Linked DNA regions of Homo sapiens: region 1 is linked to region 2. The links are contacts of gene promoters, found by promoter capture Hi-C in blood cells and fetal thymus (Javierre and others, 2016). All regions are on one chromosome and are shown on one strand. The core of a region is centred on a gene start or on the middle of the fragment in contact, and the rest is flanking DNA. Distances in the headings are between cores, read along the strand shown.

Region 1 (7,058 bases), core at 2,252-4,751, 120 kb before region 2:
CATATCAGCTCTGCGGATCAACATGCAGCAGTAACTGAGAGTCTCAACCTTTTTCTGTTTAACTTTTTTATCCTAAATATGTAGTTAGAAATCCCTTTGTTTTAAATGTTCCTAACTTGAGGGCCATAATGGGAAGAAGCATGAGCTGGAAGGTCTTCATCTAGAAACACAGCCAGTGTTGGTAATGGTTAAAGGGTCCAAGAGGGGCTTTAGCACCTTAGGAAGTCCTGCCAATACCCGCCATGTCTTCACTTGGCAGGCTGGTCTTCAAGTGCCTTGGATTACTGAAGACTATTGTGCTCTTGTGTGTCATACTTCAGGTTTGATTGGTAACATAAAACCCTTTAAACCTGAGGAAGAGTGCACGGCTTATGAGGTAAAGGACTCAGCCAGGAGGGAAAGGACTGCTCCCGTCATTGGTGAGCTAGCCGTTATCGCTCATTCTGAGGGACCTCTGATCTTGCCCATAAAGGTCAGGAGGACTGTGCACTAGGAGGAAGCGTAATACTTCCTTTCCTTCAGAAGGCCACGTTTTGTTGGTCAGACTTCAGAAAATAAGCATTTGGGCCACACGTCGTGGCTCACTCCCGTAATCCCAGCACTTTGGGAGGCTGAGGCGGGTGGATCACCTGAGGTCAGGAGTTCAAGACCAGCCTGGCTAACATGGCGAAACCCTGTCTCTACTAAAAATACAAAAATTAGCTGGGTGTGGTGTGGGCGCCTGTAATCCCAGCTACTCAGGGGGCTGAGGCAGGAGAACCGCCTGAACCCAGGAGGGGGAGGTTGCAGTGAGCCAAGAATGCACCACGTTGCACTGCATCCTGGGCAATAGAGCAAGACTCTGTCTCAAAAAACAAACAAACAAAAAAGGAAATAAGTATTTGTACAGCCCACACTTTAACATTATTTATAATGCTGCTGAAAGCATGAATGCCTTGTTTTCCTTTTGAAGGAAGGGGCCTGAGTATCTGCAGATGATTATGTATTGCCATACTTGTCATGCATTTGACACATAATGTCTTTTTGTGTTTTAATTTTAGTATGACCCATTTGAGTCTTCAGATAGAATATTGGCAGACATCAGATTCTCATCAGTGGGTTTAATTGGTTTTATTTATGGATTTTAATAGCATCTTTGCACTCAGACAAGAGCTGGGCCTATGATGACATTGTAGATAAGGTATCAATGTGCAGTTTATTCCAGCAGTGGATTTTCTCCTCAAGCCCTCCTCTCCCCAGTGCAGTGGCCCATGTGACATTTCCACAGTGGTGTAAGCATTTGGGAATTAACAGTGGGCCTACTAACTGTTTCTGCCTTTATGCTCAAGCGAACCTTTGCTTGTGCATAAAGGGGGCGTGATCTTTGTACAATGTCATTCAGCCAGGCCGAGTAAGAATTGTGGGAGAAATATTTTTGAAATTGAAATTGCCTAGACTTAGCCTCTAAGAATAGAGGGTGGGGAGGGGAGTTTTATCTCTCATTTACTCATACTTTGGGGTGATAAAGTTTCTCCACAACTCTTCACTTATGGCCTTTTTAATATAGTGAATTTTATGCTTGCTTCAGTGTAATTTTACCTTTTAAAATGGGGACTTTCAATGTGCATCTTATTTCAAATGCAAATATCCCCATGTATTGATGTTGGCTTATGTTGGGCAGAATATGGTCAGACATCATTTCAGTGGGAGGTTTTTCTGGATTCAAGTAAACAAACAGAAGAAAGCACATACAGCTTTTTGGCAGTGAAATAATTTAAAACAATATCCATAAAACAGACCAAAAAGACTCAAACCTCAGAATAAAACTGTGACCATGATTTTCAGTGTCCAATTACCCTTTTGACAGATAAATGAGTTCCTGCTGAAGAAAGAGAAATATAATACACATATGCAGAGTTGGACACATGTCTGAGTCCAATAGGAACATGTCTAAGTGAAAAAAAAGCAGAATGCAAAATTATATATGCCATATAATATAATTACAAGAAATGTTTGGAAAACAGGATTGCAAGTAAATATGCCAAAATGTTAATGGTGATCCCCAGGTGGCAGAATTATAGGTTATGTCTTTTTCTGTTTCTTTGTTTTGTTTTGTTTAATGTTCTGTACTTTCCAAGTGCTCCACAAACAAGCACATGTAGGCTATCTAAGTGGAAAAACAGAAAAAAGCTGCTTTTTCTTTTTTTTTTGAGATGGAGTCTCACTCTGTCGCCCAGGCTGGAGTGCAGTGGCGCGATCTTGGCTGACTGCAAGCTCCGCCTCCCGGGTTCACCTCATTCTCCTGCCTCAGCCTCCCGAGTAGCTGGGACTACAGGCGCCCGCCACCACGCCCGGCTAATTTTTTGTATTTTTAGTAGAGACGGGGTTTCACCGTGTTAGCCAGGATGGTTTCAATCTCCTGACCTTGTGATCTGCCTGCCTCGGCCTCCCAAAGTGCTGGGATTACAGGAGTGTGCCCAGCAAAAGCTGCATTTTCTAAAGTTTTTTTTTTTTGAGATGGAGTCTCGCCCTGTCACCCAAACTGGAATGCAGTGGCGTGATCTTGGCTCACTGCAATCTCTGCCTCTTGGGTTCAAGCAATTCTCCTGCCATAACCTCCCGAGTAGCTGAGATTACAGGCACGTGCCACCATGCCCGGCTAATTTTTGTATTTTTAGTAGAGACGGGGTTTCACTGTGTTGGCCAGGCTGCCAGACTTTTTATAGTGAGCATATTTTGTGGAAACAATGAAGAAAAATCACCATCTTATTTTAAATGCAACATCAGATTAGCAGCCATCTAGGGAGACAGCATACAACGAAGGGAAAGAAGCAGGCTGTTGAAATGTTGGGAACTGGGCAGAGAGAGAAAGAACTCAGTCTCTGTTCCTTAGACTTGAGAAGGAACCCAGGCCCTGCCCCTTCCAGTGTTGAGACCTTGAGTCCGTCATTTCTTTTTTTTTTTTTTTGAGACGTAGTCGCTCTGTCGCCCAGGCTGGAGTGCAGTGGTGCATCTCTGCTCACTGCAAGCTCCACCTCCCAGGTTCACGCCATTCTCCTGCCTCAGCCTCCTGAGTAGCTAAGACTACAAGGCGCCCGCCACCATGCCCGGCTAATTTTTTGTATTTTAAGTAGAGATGGGATTTCACTGTGTTAGCCAGGATGGTGATCTCCTGACCTCGTGATCCGCCCACCTTGGCCTCCCAAAGTGCTGGGATTACAGGCGTGAGCCACAGCGCCTGGCCGAGTCCATCATTTCTTCTCTTGGGTTTCACTTTCGCCGCTGAAATAAAGGGGTTGAACTAGATGACTTCTGAGGTCTCTTATAGCACAAATGTTTTGTAATTAGAATTTTACTGCCCATTGTTGACCTTGGAGAGACTTACTGTACTCCAGGGGACAGCAGGGGGTTGAGACAAATTGAGGGTCTGTTGAAAGCTTAGAACTCCCTAGGATACTGACTGGAATATGGTTGAAGGCAATTTACAGATCATGAAGATCTGATGTTGGAAGTAAAGAGCAATGAACAGATTGAGGTTGAAAGTTTTTCATTCCTGTCTTAGCCCAGGGCCTTTGTATGTTCTGTTTCCTCTGCCTGGAAGTTGCTGTAAGCTTGTGGCCAGTGCCATCTCATCCCCTGACGTGGTGGCTCACGCCTGTAATCCCAGCACTTTGGGAGGCCGAGGTGGGTGGATCACGAGGTCAGGAGATCGAGACCATCCTGGCTAACATGGTGAAACCCCGTCTCTACTAAAAATACAAAAAATTAGCAGGGCGTGGTGGCCGGCGCCTGTAGTCCCAGCTACTCGGGAGGCTGAGGCAGGAGAATGGCGTGAACCCAGGAGGTGGAGCTTGCAGTGAGCCGAGATCGCACACTGCACTCCAGCCATGGCGACAGAGCGAGACTCCGTCTCAAAAAAAAAAAAAAAAAGTTTTCCCTCCAGATAAAAGCTAGTTTTCTGAAACTGTAATATAGTTTGTCATATAATTTTGGGCTCTAAATCCCAATTTGGGAATCATTCCCTGCTTTCCATTTTCTTTCTTTTTTTTTTTTTGTTTTGAGACAGTCTCACTCTGTTGCCCAGGCTGGAGTGCAGTGAGCCGAGATCGTGCTCACTGCAACCTCCACCTCCCGGGTTCAAGCGATTATCCTGCCTCAGCCTCCCAAGTTGCTGGAATTACATGCCCCCACCATCATGCCTGGCTAATTTTTTTGTATCTTCAGTAGAGATGGGGGTTTCATCATGTTGGCCAGGTTGGTCTCGAACTCCTGACCTCAGGTGATCCACCCACCTCAGCCTCCCAAAATGCTGGGACTACAGGTGTGAGCCACGGCGCCTGGCCTCCCCTTTCCATTTTCACTCTGCAGTTGTGCATAGAACTCCGGGGACTCCTCTGCTGGCTGTCTTGTTCTCTTTTCCTTCTATAAGGAACTCAAGAAGGGAATCCATAGGGCATGTTAAAGAGGAAGGTAGTGAAAGTGAGATGATGAGGCATCCTGGCTTGAAGTCATCAGTGTGGAGGTGTCTAGGAAATCAGTGGCTTAGAGACTTTATTATTCCATGTGTAGTATTTTTTTCCCTCCCTTCTAATTAGCCATTGGAATTCTAAATTTTCTATTCTGTAATTGGTAAGCAGTTTAGAAATTCTAGGAGAAAGCTGAAAGAGAAAGTAAGTGTCTCTTGAATAATCTTTTTTAAGAGATGGGATTTTAAAATAACACATATGTTGCATAGTCTGAGTACCTTTAGGAATTTTTTTTGTGAGATCTTAAACTTAGGGCAGGAAAACCACCTCCGGTCTGTCTGACATAGCAGGGACATTATAATTGCAGCTGTTGGCAAAAGAGCTCTTTGTTTCACCTGACGGTTTGAAAGAACTGATGGGATGTCTGGGCAGAGCAATACATTTAAAAAAGTGAAATGAAGCTTGACAAACTGGGTATGTTGAAGCTTGGAAGCCACAAAGTTCAAAACAGATACTTTATGAAATTCACTCTCACATCCCCACAATGAAAGAAAAGGAGCCAGAATATTGGGATTTGAATCCAATGATGTCAGATGTGACTCCTTTCTGAGTGATGTGGACTCAGCTGGGGATGCTGCTATGCGGTAGTGCAGGCAAATCTGTCGATACTGGGTAATGGTATTTTAAAAATCCTTGCTCCATATACAATCAGTTTGATAAACAAAAGCACTTTTCTTTCTTTAATTGAAAAAAAAGTAGTAAATGAGCACTGTAAACATTTCACAGTAGAGAAATAAAAATTAATGAACCAACCCACTCCTAGAAATGGTTATTGTTAAGCAGTTGGTGTGAGTCCTCCCAGACATTTTTTCTGTGCCTGTGTAACCATATCCCGGGCTAAGACAGCAGGCTCTCAGATAACACCGTTTTGTTCAACATTGTTTGGTTGTAATGTTGATGAGAAAAAAATAAATCTATCCACGACCAAGGCCACTGTGTGAATGGAGTTTGCACTTTCTCTCCATGTCTACGTGGATTTTCTCTGGGTACTCCAGTTTCTTCCCACATCCCAAAGATGTACAGGTTAGGTGAACCAGCATGTCTGCATAGTCCCCATGTGAGTGTGGGTGTGTGTGAGCGCACCCTGACATGGGATGGGTTCCGGCCACCTGAGACCCTAAACTGGAAACATGGCATAAATAATTAACTTGTTAAGTTGGCAAAATCTCACCAATGCTAAGCATTATAATTGCTTAAGTAATTTTCCATTTCTTCTGGATTCTTTAATTACATTTTAATATCTATATAATTGCTTTAAGTAATGAATGTTAAGTGCAAAAATACACCAAGTTAACAACAGCTACCCTCCAAAATAATAATTATCTTGTTTTTATTAATCTTTCTTAAATTATATATAGGTAATATTTATTTCAATGTTTATTATTAGACATGTTTTAGGTCTTTAGAAGTTTGCTGATGTTTTTGTGACCAGAAATATGCTGGAGGAAGTTAATTCTTGTTTATATAAATTAGCCTGGCCGGGCGTGGTGGCTCACGCCTGTAATTCCAGCACTTTGGGAGGCTGAGGTGGGTGAATCACTTGAGATCAAGAGTTTGAGACCAGCCTGGCCAACATGGTGAAACCCCATCTCTACTAAAAATACAAAAATTAGCCAGGCGTGGTGGCAGGCACCTGTAATCCCACTTACTCGGGAGGCTGAGGCAGGAGAATTACTTGAACCCAGGAGGCGGAGGTTGCAGTGAGCCAAGATTGTGTCATTGCACTCCAGCCTGGGTGACAAGAGCGAAACTCTGTCTAAAAATAAATAAATAAATAAAATTAATTAATTAGCCTATGGTAAAATTAGTCTTGTTATTCATTTTGCTTAAAGTCCCAGTTTGTAAGAACCTATAGACAACATTAAGTGATAACTTAGCATACACACACGTAAATGAGATGATATTCTGCAACTTCATAAAATAGTTTCAGGGAAGATACATCAGTTGTGTTTTAGGTAATATATTACCCTTTATTATTTATTTATTTATTTATTTATTTTTGAGACAGAGTCTCACTCCATTACCCAGGCTGGAGTGCAGTGGTGCCATCGTGGCTCACTGCAACCTTTGCCTCCTGGGTTCAAGCGATTCTTGTGCCTCAGCCTCCTGAGGAGCTGAAATTACAGTCGTGTACCACCATGCCTGACTAGTTTTTGTATTTTTAGTAGAGATGGGGTTTTGCTATGTTGATTAGGCTGGTATCTAACTCCTGACCCCAGGTAGTCCACTTGCCTCGGTCTCCCAAAGTGCTGGGATTACAGGCATGAGCCACTGTGCCCGGCCTACCCTTGATTTAATTCATCATGTCCTTGAACCAAAAAATAAAGTGATTGGCTTGGATGTGCAATAGCTAAGTGATGTACTTTCTTCATATGTATGCATTTTATTCAGCTAAAAAAGAAACTGCTATTAGATAAAGCCTAACTGTATAAATGAGGCAAATGATGTGAAATTTGATTCTTATTTGGAAATGAATTATGCTGTGATAGAAAATTTACTCTGTGTATGCTCTGACATATTTTCGTAATTATATTTGAGAAATTGGCAATTTAG
Region 2 (7,046 bases), core at 1,006-3,505:
AAATTCAGCACCCATTCATAGTAAAGAAGAATAGTGCTTCCTTACCCTGATAAAGAATATCTATCAAAAAATCCACAACAAACACTATAGTTAATGGTGATATGTTACAAGCAGTCAAGAACAGGATAAAAATGCCCATTACCATCACTGCTCTTCAACATTGTGTGAGAGAATTTAGTCAGCACAGTACAGCAAGAAAAAGGAAAAAAAGGACAGGAAGATACCACACTGTTATGACTTGCAGACTCTATGATTATTTGCACAGCGAATTCAAGAGAACCTACAAACTTATTAGAACTGAAAGAGTTCACTTTTGCTGAATATAAGATTATATAAAACCCAACTGCATTTCAATAGCCATCTATCAATTATAAAATACAAAAGTGAAAGTACAATTAGCACTAGTTATAAAAATTTTAAGATAGGAGGGACTAGGTCTGACAAAATCACCAACAAAATTAATCCATCAGTTTTTATATGGGGAAATAGAAGCCCTGAGAGGGGAAATGACTCTTTCAAGGATACCCAGTAAATCAGAGGCAATTCTGGGTTTTCAGTGGCACCAAATTCTGGAGATCTGAGTATTGGGTAATTTTGGTATTGTCCTTCTATTAAAAAACAACAAAACCCAGTGGGGTGGGGAGGAGTGGGGGGCAAAAAAAAAAAAAAAGAAAAACCAAACCAAAACTCATTGTATTTTTCTGATTATAAATTCAATATTTATGTGTTCTGATTATAAATTCAATATTCATGAAAATTCAGAAGAACGTTATGAAGTAATGCCATTAACATTCCCATACTGTTATCTTGAACACGATGGTCAATGGTTTGATGTATTTCCTTCAAAATTTTTGTCTGTATATATTTATGTTTTTAAAAATAAAATCAGGATATCATGTGTACTAGTTTGTGTATTGATCATTTTCACACACATTTCCCTGTATTCTCACCTAGTCTTTGTGAATTTGATAATGTAGCACTCAGTTATGTTGATGAAGCATATGTCATTTATTTAACCTATCAATTTGAGCTTTTGGAGACAAATCAAGTATCAGATATAACTGTGATGATCATGCTGATACAATTTCAACCCCAGAGCTAGCTCACACACATGCAGACGTGAAACCCAAGTGAGTTTCTAAGGCCAGTGGTTATTCTGGTGGAGAAGGTTAAACCCAGCATCAGGTAACTGGTCCCACCGGAAGGGGACAGTGGCCTGGCTAGCAGGAAGTGAATGGACTTGGAACGAGTGGACGGATGGAGACCAATTAGCCCTGAGGCGTTAGGTGCTGCCCATCCTCTGCAGCCTTGGCTTCCTTCCTGGTGAAGTGGGGACAATACCAGCGCCAGTCTCATCTAGGGTCGAGCTCCTCCAGGCCCCAGAGCCTTTGCATGGGTCGTTTTGTCTGCTGAAGGTAGCTCTGCCCTTCTCTCCACCTGGCTGCCCGTGTTGCTGAGCTTCTGGGCCCAGCAGCCCTTTGCTGTCTTGCCCGTCAGGCCGGACCAGACCGTCTTGCCCCGGTGGCCCCGGGGGCTTCTTCACAGGCCTCATCGCAGGGTTGTCTCCCCAATGCAGGGCAGGCAGGAGGAGCTCTGGCCGCAGGTCGGGGTCCAGGTCTTCCTCGGCCACTGCGTTTGGAGCAGGGGCTCCCTTCCCTTCTTCTCCATCTAAGTCCTCTAATCATGTCCCTCCCAACACTTACGGCCATAACTTGTCATTATTTTGTCTATTAGCTGTTTCCTTGAGTCTTGTCTGTCTTCTCCTTTGATTAGGACCCGCCTCCGTCTTGGTGGCCGCTGTATCTCCTAAACCCCCAGGCCTGAGATATAGTGGGGGGCCCATACAAGTTCGTGAAATGACTAAGGAGAAACAGCTGTGGAGGCACCACCCCTGAGGACGCAGTGGGCCTGGGGTTGGGCGGACCCCAGGCTGCGGGCGGAGGCGGGACGTAGGGGCGGGGTTTCGGGGCTTCGGAGCGGAGCCTAAGGGGCGGGACTGGGGCTTCGGGGCGGGGCTTCGGGGCTGCGGTCGTGTGGTCTTGACCGCGCGGCTCCGACTGCGCTGGCTGAGTTCCTCAGGCCGCCCGCTCTCTGGCTTCCAGCCCGCGCTGCCGTTAGGGGGCGCCCGCGCTCGTGGCGCCGCGGCTCTGCTGGGAAGGCGCCGCCCGCGCCGGGCAGCTGGAGCCGCAACTCCGGGCGCGGGCTCAGTCGTCCCCTCTGCCGCCGCCGCCGCCGCCGTCGCCGGGCGCGGGCTCGCTTGTCCCCGCGCTCGCGCTCTCCGGCCGCGGGCATCTCCCGGCCCGGCCGCAGCAGCCGCCGCCGCCGCGCAGTGAGTGGGGCTGGCGCGGGGCTTGCGGGGCCGGGGTTTGGGAGGGCCGGGTTTCAGGAGACGTCTGCGCCGAGCGGCCAGGGGAGCGGGGCTGAGGAGGATCTGGGCGGGGGCTCCTGGAACGGGGCGGCGGCGGGGCCGCGTTGAGGGGACCGCGCGTCCCGGGCTGGCACGAGCCAGCAGCGGAGGTGCCCGCGGCGGGGCCTGGGCGGGGGTTCCGGGGCCCGCCCGGCGGGGATGCGCGGTTTCTGCGGGCCCGGGTTCGGAGCCCCGCGGCGCGCCCCTCGTCCGGGCCCGGAGCATCGCCCGCCCTACCCCTGGCCGGGTCGGGTTGCGGGGGCTTCGCTGGCGGGGCAGCAGCGAAGGGCGGCCCGGACGGAGATATTTGGGGTGTGCTCGAAAATGATTGTTTTTGGGAGATGGCGCTTATTAGCCACCAATTGCCCTAGTTTAAAGCTTGAGGCAGGACTCAAAACCCTGCCTTTGGGATTTTCTGCCCTGAAGAGACTCTCAGATCGCAGCTGAGTTCTTTATGCCTAGATTTGTGTGTGTGTGGTGGCGTTTTTAATGCTTGATGTCAGAGGTGATAAATGGCCATGGTAATGGGGAGCCCTGGCAGCACCTGCTGGGCTGACAGTGGTGGAGGCTGTGTCTGGGGGTGGGACGGGGAAATGAAACGTGACAGAGATCCTGTTTGGATATTCTGCCGAAGTTACCATGTTTCTGTTCAAGTATACCAGTTCTAGAACAAGTTGATGGATCCAATTTTAGGACTTTGTGATAGAAGAGGTTTGGGTGGCAAAGTGACCTGGGATGACCCGGCTCGGCTAAGAATATTTGGGGTAGCCTAAGTATCTCTTCTATATCCCCCTGGCATGTTCTTTTTTTCGCTGTCACAAATGCCCTATTACTTGAATCATCCTGGGATAGGAGAGAAGCTTGGGGACAGCATGTAGCACAGTCCTGAGCCCAAGATTGAGATGTTTTCAAATGAACGAATATGTAGCTAGGAAAAGGAAAATGTGTTTGTCAGCAGGGTTGGTAGGTTGAGAGTATTTTCTCTTTGGCCGAAACCATCAGTCCATACTGATACTTGATTTTGTGCTATGCCTTAGATATGAACGATGGAGTGGTCAGGATAGCCATGGATGCCATTCCAAAGTTTTGTGATTTGAATTTTCATAAATCATATTTTAACCAAAGCATTACTACTTAAAGGAATCTTAGGGTGAACCCTATGAATCCTTCAGTGCGCTTGGATTTTGATATTTGGGGTCCATTTAAAATGGAGTACCTGTATGTATTTGGATTCAGCTTTAACTTGGAGATAATCCCGAGTCATGCTTTAAAGAAGTTCCTTCTGAGATCAGGAGCTCAGGTGTTTGGTGAACTCTGGGAAAACTAGACACTCCCCTTTACCTGTATATAGTTCTCCCTTCTGGAGCTCTGGGAAAAGGAGGACCTGGGGAGATTTGAAGCAAATTAAGAGGCTGCCTCCTCCATATTTGCCGTCTCCAGGCCAATGCTCTAAATTACTTGTGTTCACACTCAAGTTTCTCATGTTAACCTAGAAATTTTGTTTATGCTGCTGCCACTAATGTTTTCACATTTGTCTAATACTTGCTAGTTTACAGATGGTTTTATATTCATGATCTCCCTTATTTTCTCCATTTCCCCAAAGAAGAAGCTGGGCATAAAGAGTGATTTTCTCAGGGTCTCATAATCAGTAACGGAGCAGAATTCAACTACAGGACCTCCCTGGGAACCTGTTCTCTTTCCTTGTCCTGATGTGTTACTCTTATAGGCCAATTTTTGCCTTTGTGTTGTGCCTAAATGGTGTAATTACCCCGTTTTGGGAAGGTGGTATTATCCCGTTTTATCTTGCGGAAACTGAGGGTTAAGAGGAATGTTATGATTTTGTGACTATTTGTGACAGCTTTTTAATATTAGGTCACTTTTAAACCTATAGCTTCTCTCTTCTAGACCACATGGTTGAGAAAGGAGAAAGAGAAAATGATTACTTGTAGAGAAAAATCCATTTCTGCAGTGGTATGGTTAAGGATAATCTAACCATAATCACATTATCCTTGTATGCCTGGCTACTTATGCTGGCCTGTATGTGAATGTTAACCCCAAAGACTCCTTTAGATGTCGCTGAACTAGTTACTATAAAAAGTATTTCGCTTTCAAACTCCCACATTTCAAGAAGAGCAAAACTCAATACAAGGCAATTTTGAAGGTAAGTATAGAAAGAGGGAGTTTATTGAGTCTTTTCTGACTACCAGACACGAAGGTTTCAGTAAAAAAGCATTTTTAAAGGGCTGCCTGGAAACTCTGGGAAGTCAGTAGTTGGAGTTTTTTATTATTCGTTGGAGGTTTTTATTGCAACATATAGGTAGTTATATAGGATTAGGACTTTTGCCCCGGAGAATTCTTAATCTATAGCAGGAATGATAAACCCAGAATATTTTTGTTAAGTTAGTTCATCATAACCATTAGGCCTGTAATTGCAATTCTGCAGTGATAGGGAGAATGGCATTTAAGGGTTCTTAGGTTATTTTTTTAAGTTATTAACTTACTGAATTATGTATGCATTTCTTCAGATATGCTACTTTAGAAAATTAATACTTCCTTTTAAGGTTTCTATAAATTCTTCAGTATGTGTTTTCTTAAGCTTAATTACCTGCTAACATGACACTGTCAGAATTTATACATTAGTCACAATAACCTTTGAAGCTTAAACATGGTTGAATTTTCAGCACTGCTTTATATTCTTTGGGGAGTGGGCAGTGTTGTTTTCACAAGAATTTTATTTGCATCAAAGGTTACATCTTTTCAGGTGAACTGATTTTTCAGGGTCAGAGGCTTCTTTGAATTTTATAGCTGTTTGTGCTCGGTTGCATTTGCTGTCTTTCAAAACCATCTTTAGTTTTAGTAAGGAAAGTCACTATAAAGGAAAAATTTTTTATTGTTACCATTCCTGGTAGATTTTCTGAAATATTAGATATTTCTTTGCTTTCATCAAGTAAAATAGGCCTATTTGATACCCATTTCAAGATCTTCCTTCTGCTGCCTGTCTTGTGGTCATTTAACTTCTCATTAAGCCCTCCACTGGAGACTGTGCCAGAAGGGAGAGAAGATGAAAAGCAAATGAATCATTTTCTAATTGTTAGTAGCTCTGGAAAATGATTCAGTAGAAGAGATTGAAACTATTCTGGAAATTCTTTGGGATTGTATTTCATTCATCTGCATCGTTTCAGAGATGTTCCTAATGGTCGTCAATTCAGAATTCAGAAGCCGATCATTATCCAGCTATTGGATAACAGGGAATTTTTCATGCTTTTTTTTTGTTTGTTTGTTTCTTGCTGTATTTAAGCATCTCCACAGAAGATATTTAGAAGCAGGTAGAGATAAAATTTAAACTAATCAATACTGTTTTTTCCCTTTGAACTCTTTAATGCACAATTTGATTTCTTTAGACAGTTTACTCATTGTTATTGGAAGTGACTAATAGTAACTTTGCTTCAATTTATTTTGATGTATCTTATACACAAGTATAGGAAGGCTTTTGGGTGGTTTTTAAGAAACATGGGCTGTAGATTCCCATAATTGCTTTCCTGAATTATTAAGCGTGAGCTTTCATTACATCTTTGTACCGGAACTTTTGCTTTTGCTGTGGAACAGATTCAGGGACATCGTCTAATTTTTTTTTTTTTTTTTTTAGATAACTGCTCAAGAAGTTACCTTGTTTTGATTTAGCAGTAAAAAAGAAAAAAAGGGTTAATAGTGGACAGACTTTTCGTTAACGGCTGCAACATTGATGTCTGCTTTTTTCCTTGTCTTTGATCTTCTGTTTCTCATTTAATCATTTGGATATTCACGGATTGGAGTTCTTTATGTCACTACAGACAGGACAGCAACCGTTATTCACACTAGTTGAATGGGTTCCTGCCTTTTTTTGGTGGGGGGGCCTCAGGAGAATTTTTACAAACCCATTATGACTGTTTAGTTAGGCTGAGTTACTGTAAAATTTGTAAATAAAACCCTACTGGATGGATAGGGTTAATAGATGGCTATAGAGAGTTTAAAGTTAAGCTTTTTCAATTTCTTGTCTCTTGGATTCTGTTCTTTCAATTTCTACCCTAGGAGGGGATTTATGGAAAAATCTAGACTAAGAGTCAGAACATGCAAGTTCTTATCTAGTTACTTCCCAGCTGTGGCGCCCTCAGCTAGTCACTTAATCTGCCTTGTTTCTCTGTTTTGCATCTTTAAGATGAGGATAGTAATCCCTGCTCGGCCTACTGGTATCAGGAATGTTGTAGGGGGAAAAAAAGTCTTTCATGCCCCTGTCTATTAAATTGTTTCTTCCTTCTAGAATCCCTTCTCAGGTTGTCCGAATTTTCTTTCAAGGATTCAACTGAATGGGCTCTTCCCAGAAGTCCTCTATTTCCCATTTGAAATCTTGCTTTTCCCCTCTCACGGGCCTCTGCTGGTCCATCTGTTATACAGCACTTTGAATTCTGTTCTGTACTTCAGTCATTGCATGTTGCCTTCCATTATAGATGGAAAGCTCCATGAGGGCAAAGATTGTCTTTTTCCTCTTTCTGTGTGTCCGCATTGCACATAGGCACCCCCTCCACTCCATAGGTGACCCACAATAATTGTTGGCTGAATGAATGATTATTGAGGCTGTCAGAATGAATACTTTGGGTGATGG

What was found. Contacts are between HindIII fragments. The CHiCAGO score rates a contact against its expected background, and 5 or more counts as called.
Region 1: a fragment that was not itself captured here is called in contact with the fragment with the promoter of KCTD6 in region 2 in 1 of 17 cell types (naive B cells); the score reaches 5.3 in naive B cells.

Annotation. Positions count from the first base shown.
Region 1 is chr3:58,370,152-58,377,209 of GRCh38, forward strand. The region is part of intron 3 of PXK (PX domain containing serine/threonine kinase like); the gene reads left to right. Among named protein-coding and RNA genes, the nearest start is that of PXK, 41 kb to the left of the region's middle. The HindIII fragment of the contact is 174 bases long and covers 3,415-3,588 here.
Region 2 is chr3:58,489,841-58,496,886 of GRCh38, forward strand. KCTD6 (potassium channel tetramerization domain containing 6) reads left to right here and starts at 2,256. Exons shown (of 3, transcript NM_001128214.2): 1 at 2,256-2,329. RefSeq lists a silencer at 1,907-2,556. The HindIII fragment of the contact is 5,155 bases long and covers 1-2,783 here.